Regions from separate parts of the Homo sapiens genome. Here region 1 is linked to region 2. The links are contacts of gene promoters, found by promoter capture Hi-C in blood cells and fetal thymus (Javierre and others, 2016). All regions are on one chromosome and are shown on one strand. The core of a region is centred on a gene start or on the middle of the fragment in contact, and the rest is flanking DNA. Distances in the headings are between cores, read along the strand shown.

Evidence for each region. The method cuts DNA at HindIII sites, captures the fragments that hold promoters and counts their contacts. A CHiCAGO score of 5 or more calls a contact.
Region 1: a fragment that was not itself captured here is called in contact with the fragment with the promoter of PKNOX2 in region 2 in 2 of 17 cell types (endothelial precursors and M2 macrophages); the score reaches 7.3 in endothelial precursors.

What each region holds. Positions count from the first base shown.
Region 1 is chr11:125,326,901-125,329,600 of GRCh38, reverse strand. All of the region lies in intron 2 of PKNOX2 (PBX/knotted 1 homeobox 2), which reads right to left. Among named protein-coding and RNA genes, the nearest start is that of PKNOX2-AS1, 61 kb to the right of the region's middle. The HindIII fragment of the contact is 2,455 bases long and covers 79-2,533 here.
Region 2 is chr11:125,163,375-125,166,074 of GRCh38, reverse strand. It overlaps PKNOX2 (PBX/knotted 1 homeobox 2), which reads right to left and starts at 1,324. Exons shown (of 13, transcript NM_001382323.2): 1 at 1,299-1,324. PKNOX2-DT (PKNOX2 divergent transcript) reads left to right here and starts at 1,466. Exons shown (of 3, transcript NR_125759.1): 1 at 1,466-1,734. RefSeq lists a silencer at 1,462-1,611. The HindIII fragment of the contact is 6,114 bases long and covers 1-2,700 here.

The DNA.
Region 1 (2,700 bases), core at 57-2,556, 160 kb before region 2:
CTCTGAAAGCTCTAGTCACATCCTGTCTCATGCTATGGTTATCTTAGATATCTTTCATCTCCTTCCAAACTATAAGCTTCTCATGGGCAGAAGTCCTATCTTAAATCTGTATAATTTTTTCAGTTCACAAAGTACTTTCATGTGTAATATCTTCTTTAACTCTTAAAACAACCTTTAAAAGTAGGTATTTTAATATGATGATTTTGTTACCTTTAAAAAATAGCAAATGCTTCTTGTAAAAAATAGACAAATAAGAGGAAAAATGTTAAGTTAGTAGCAATCCTACAATACAAATATAAGCTACAGTTAATATTTGGAGTAAAATGCTTCTTTTTTAAAAGCAGTATCATATTTTCATACTGTTCACTAAATAGCCTTTTGTATTTAACAACATATCATAAACACCTTTTCATGTAGGAGGAAAATATATTATAATTTTAATGATTATGGCATTCCATTTATGGGTATACTATAATTACTCAGACAAATTCTTCACATTTGTTGTTTAGATTATTTCCAGTTTTTGCTATTATAAACACATAATGACTATTCTTGCAGTGGACTCTTGCTCCAGACTTGATCATTTTCTTAGGATAAGTTTCTGGATGTGGAATTGCCAAGTCCAAAGGTGTGTTCGTCTTAAGGAATTTTTACAAATTACTTGCAGGAAGGTCATACCCATTTACATCCTATCAGCAGCGTATGAGAGATGCCTTTCCCTTGCCAGGTAGTTGCTCTTATTTTGTAGATGTGGAAAATGAGGCTTAGGAAAGTCAAGCACAGGGCTTGCCTAAGAAAACAGCCAGCAAGTGGCGTGTCTTCTGACTCCAGACATTTTGTTCTCCCAAGCTCTCTGCTTCTCTTTGCCCTTCTATTTCTTACCAATCCAAAGAGAGTGCCTGCAGTAGTAAGTGCTAAATTAATGTTGCACTCCCGGAAGGAGAGGCAGAGGCGGCTGTGCCCTGAGTGGTGGGGTGGGCCAATCCTGGGAGCTTTGCTAACATCAGCCTTTTCCGGGTGTCTGAGGCTGACTTGGTAAATGACAGATCTGTTCTTTGGTAGCTTTTTACTACTCCTTCCTGCCCTGTACCTGGGAAGGTACAAATTGCTTCAATTTAGTCCCCATATATTAAGAATCTACCTTGTGCTGGGGCCTGGGCATCAAAGACACAACACACATACTATCTGTCTCTGTCTCTGTCTCTCTTTCTCTCTCACTCACTCTCTCTCTCTCTCTCACTCACTCTCTCTCTTTCTCTCTCTCTCCCCCGCTCTCTCCCTGTCTTCTAGGTGTTTACAGTCTAGTGGGCAAAATAGAAGGTAAAGAAATAATTGCCACCTACAATGTGTGTGTGATGCTGCTTCTGACTGTCAGCCTCCAGATCCCACAATGGCCAGAGCAGGGCTCAGGGCCAGGGTCAGGGCTGGGGAGGGGAGGAAGCCCTGCCTGCCTGGTGTGGCCTCCAGCCTCTGTCTCTTTCATTGTGTCCCTCCTGGTGCTGGGGTTCCAGGGCTCCCTTCGACATCCTGCCATAGCCATGTGTTCCTTGTCTTTCTGCTCTAGCTGAGCCTCTGCTGCCCCCACCCCAAGACGACACAGAGGAGCTACAACTCAGAGAGGAATCACTCCAATATTAGGGAAAGAAGCTGACCCTGTTCTCCACTCAGGGAATAAAACACACATTTGAGAGAGGAAGGACGATCAGAGGTGACACCAGCATGCCCTCACACAGGGCACCGCTTCAGGGCTACAATACACTTGGAATTCTCCTTCCCAGAACTGACAACTGCCGAGTTCCATTTGTTTCCCAACAGCCTACAGAAAGCTACAAGGCATAAATACAGTCTGTAATCTCCTTCCTGTCACTGCCAGCAATTCCACCAAGCACAAGGGGGACCACTCACATGACAGAGAGCCAGGACTGCAGGGAGGAGGAGACCCCTGATGGCCGCGGCCATCCTCCCAGTCTCCAACCCTCCTCTTGCCCTCCACACTCAAGCTGTGTGCCCCTTTCTAGATTGCAGGCAGAGGGACCCAACAATCTCCTTTTTGTCACCATGCAGAGCTCTTCCTCTCTGAAAGCTAATAAGCAGCACAGCAGGCAGGGCCAAGCCACAGATGCAGACAGAAAGTCAGAGAGAAATGGAAGGATGGGAAGACACGGGGCTGTGTGACCCAATGACCCGGATGGTTCAGGGAACAAGAAAGGAAGCAAGAGCTTCACACTGAAGATAAAGTTCCTCTGTCCTCACGACCTCCCCACCTCCAGCACTGTAGCTCCCACAGGCCTCTCTCTGCCTATCCAAGTTCATTCTACTGGACCCGTCTATGGACATGGGCTGGCTTCCCCACAGATCACCTTTGCCTGTTTTGCCAACTTGTGCTTAGGCTTTTTGCAGATGAGTTGGATAAGTGAAGACCGAGCCTCTGGAATCTGTGGCCAGAGACCCAAACTAAAGACTTGTCCCCTGTCCACTCTGGGAAGGTTACCCCCACTCTGGTATCTATCTCAGGAGCATAAAACACCAAGCTTTTTTGTCCCAGTTGGCCCAAGAGCCTAAAAAAGCATCTGTTCTCACTCTGGAGCCCACCAAGGGCCTCTTCTTCCGTGAGTGCGGTGATGAAAGTGTGGTTTGCCTACACGGACACGCCAGCAGTCCCTAATAGCTGATGTTTGTGAATCCTCAGGCTTCACCTCC
Region 2 (2,700 bases), core at 75-2,574:
ACTCTAGACTGGTCCTAAAACCCAGCCCTAATTCAGGCCGATCCACAAGCCCCTACCCCTCAATTCCCAACCCGAGTCTCCCCACCGCGCGGAAACCCCCGGCTCCCCCGTGAAGAGCCCCGGGAAAGGACGGCCCATTTCGCTCGTTTCTTCCTGGGGATCGGGAGCCAGGAAAGCCCGTCTCCTAACCCGAAAGAAATGCAAACTTTGAGCGGCAGATTCGGGATCCTGCGCCATCCCCCTCAGCTCTCCGCTCTCGATCGCTTTCAGTTCCCTCTTTTACGAACTCATCCCCTAGTTCTCGAGCCAGAAGGGCTCCCGATTCCCAAGCCTCGCGCGGGCCCCTACGCCCGCCTCACCAAAGATCCCCAGCAATCATGGAAAGCCGGTGACCCTACACATTCTCGCTCCTCCCTGGGTGAGGGTCCGTGCGTGTAGCCCCTCGGATCCTGGCTTCCCGGGCCCCGCCGGTGTTCCCCTGTCTCCACTGATCCGTCTGCAAACCCTCATTCGCCCTGCCTCCCCAGGCCGCGGCCGCGGCTCCTCGACTCCTCCGGTCACCTGGCCCCAGCCTGGGACCGCTCCCGCCTCCAGCCGCTGGAAAGCATCTCCAGGCTGGTGGCGCGGAGTAAGCGCCGGCCCCAAGGACGCCCGAAGCCGGGAGAAAGAGAACCTGGAGCCTGCCCGCGGTTCCCAGCCTCTCCCCGCGGAGCGCCCGGCCGGGAGCCTTCTGCACCCGGGCTCGGGCCGGCGTGCCTGTTCCTATTCTCGGGTCCCCTGGCGCTCCTGGCGCACAGCTCCCCGCCCGCCCGCTACGGGGTTGGGCCCGCGGCGATTCGAGTCCGCAGCCCGGCTCCTTGCACCCGAGGACAATGCGCGGCCGGCCACGGGCCCAAGCGCGGCGAGGCGGCGGCGGCGGCGGCGGCGGGGCTGAGCGCTGGCCGGGCAGGGGAGCGGGCGGCCCGCGGGGCTCTCGCAGCCTCCGTGCCCGGCCTCGCCGCCCCTCGCGCTGCTCCGCTCCGCGCTCTCCCGGCGCTTCCCCAGCTTCTCTCTGCACGCTCCCGCCGTCCCTCGCTGCTCCCTGCCTCCCTCCTCCCTGCTGCCTCCCTCTCTCTCCTCCCTGCTGCCTCCCTCTCTCCCTCTCTCCTCCTTGCCCTGTCGCAATGAATAATACTCTGGCTTGGGGACTGGAATAAAACACACGCGCTCTGAGGCAGCCGCCCGCAGCAGCAGCCGCCGCCGCGCCGCCGCCGCCGCCTGCAAAAGCGTCTCTGACATGGAAATGAATGACAGCTTACCTGATGCCAATCTTCATCAGACTGACACCGGCGTGACAACACAGCCTATACTTCCCAGCACTGCTCGGGACGTCAGCGGCACAGGGACCCGCCCCCCGGACCCCCCCTTCACACACCTCCCCTCTCCCCACTCCCCCTTTTCTCCCCACCCCCCATCACCCCCACCCACTCCCGGCCCGGCCGCTGCCAAGTCGGAGGAGCCGCTGGAGTGTCTCCCTCTACCGGAGGCTCTCGGGCGGCGGGCGCGGGCCTGCTCCTGCGGCAGGGAGGCGGGCGGCCTGGAGAAGCGGCTCCGCTCGCGAGGAGCCTCGGATGGGGAGTGCGGTGGACCCCCAGGAACTCTGGAGCACCCTCCCGCCCCCAAGCCAAGTCCTCCTTAGCGAACAACCGGGGCCGAGTTCCAAGATATCACCGGTGCTGAGGGGACCGAGATGAGGTGAGATTTTCTGTGGACCCCAAGAGAACTCCCCAGAAATGATGAAACTTAAAACGGGCAAGAAATCCTTCCTTCCACCAGCACTCCCCCTCCCCCTTTTCCTGCCTGGCTGGCCTCATTTTTATGATTGCATTTGAATAATTCTCATTACCCTGGCCCCAGAAAAGGTGTTCAGATGACACTCTGGTTAGTTATTCCTGGTCTCAAGAGCTTTTTCTGCTGTGGGCTTCCCGGGGTGTCTGGTTCAAGGTGGGGCAGAGGGAGAGAGGAAAGAGTGGATAGGCTTTGTCAGTAAAGCACTTCTTTGCAAATGTCAGGCAAGCCTGTTCTAAGCCACTGCTATTTTCATTCTAATAAAAAGTCCTCAAGAAACTCAGTGAGTTCCCAGAGTTCTGGGGGCTGGGGTGCAGTCATATAAAGGGAAAGACCAGCTGGGCTGTTTCAGCCTGGGCCTGCTGGGGTGGCTTCATCTACATCAGGGAGGAAATGGGCTCCTTACATGCCCTCTACAGTGGAAGACAAAAGCAGGCATGTGTAGACCCACAAGCGCCTCCATTCACTCAGCAGAGATCACAGTCCTACTAAGAGCCACACACAGGAGCACACTTGCTTGCTTCCTCAACTTAGCACATGGCCCTCCGCATAAAGGGACAAGAGAACCCCTTCTGCCTCTGGAAGTTTGCTTCTTGCTCCCCATAGAGGAGCCCTTTCAGCCAGTCAGGCAGCCATTGATCCTCTGACCCCAGGCCAGGCAGGGGGCCTGGAAGAAGCCCAGACAAAGACACCGACAAAAGCGGGAAAGCAGAAAGTGAAACCCAGCCTCTGGGTTTTCAGTAAAGAATCTGACCCAAGAAGTTGAAGGCTGCCCCTGAGCTCTTCTCAGGCCTCTGGGTCGCCACTCACCCGCCTCCGTCATGGGCAAGGATGAGAGCTGTTAGCATTGCCTGGCTCAGGGGAGGCAATTGA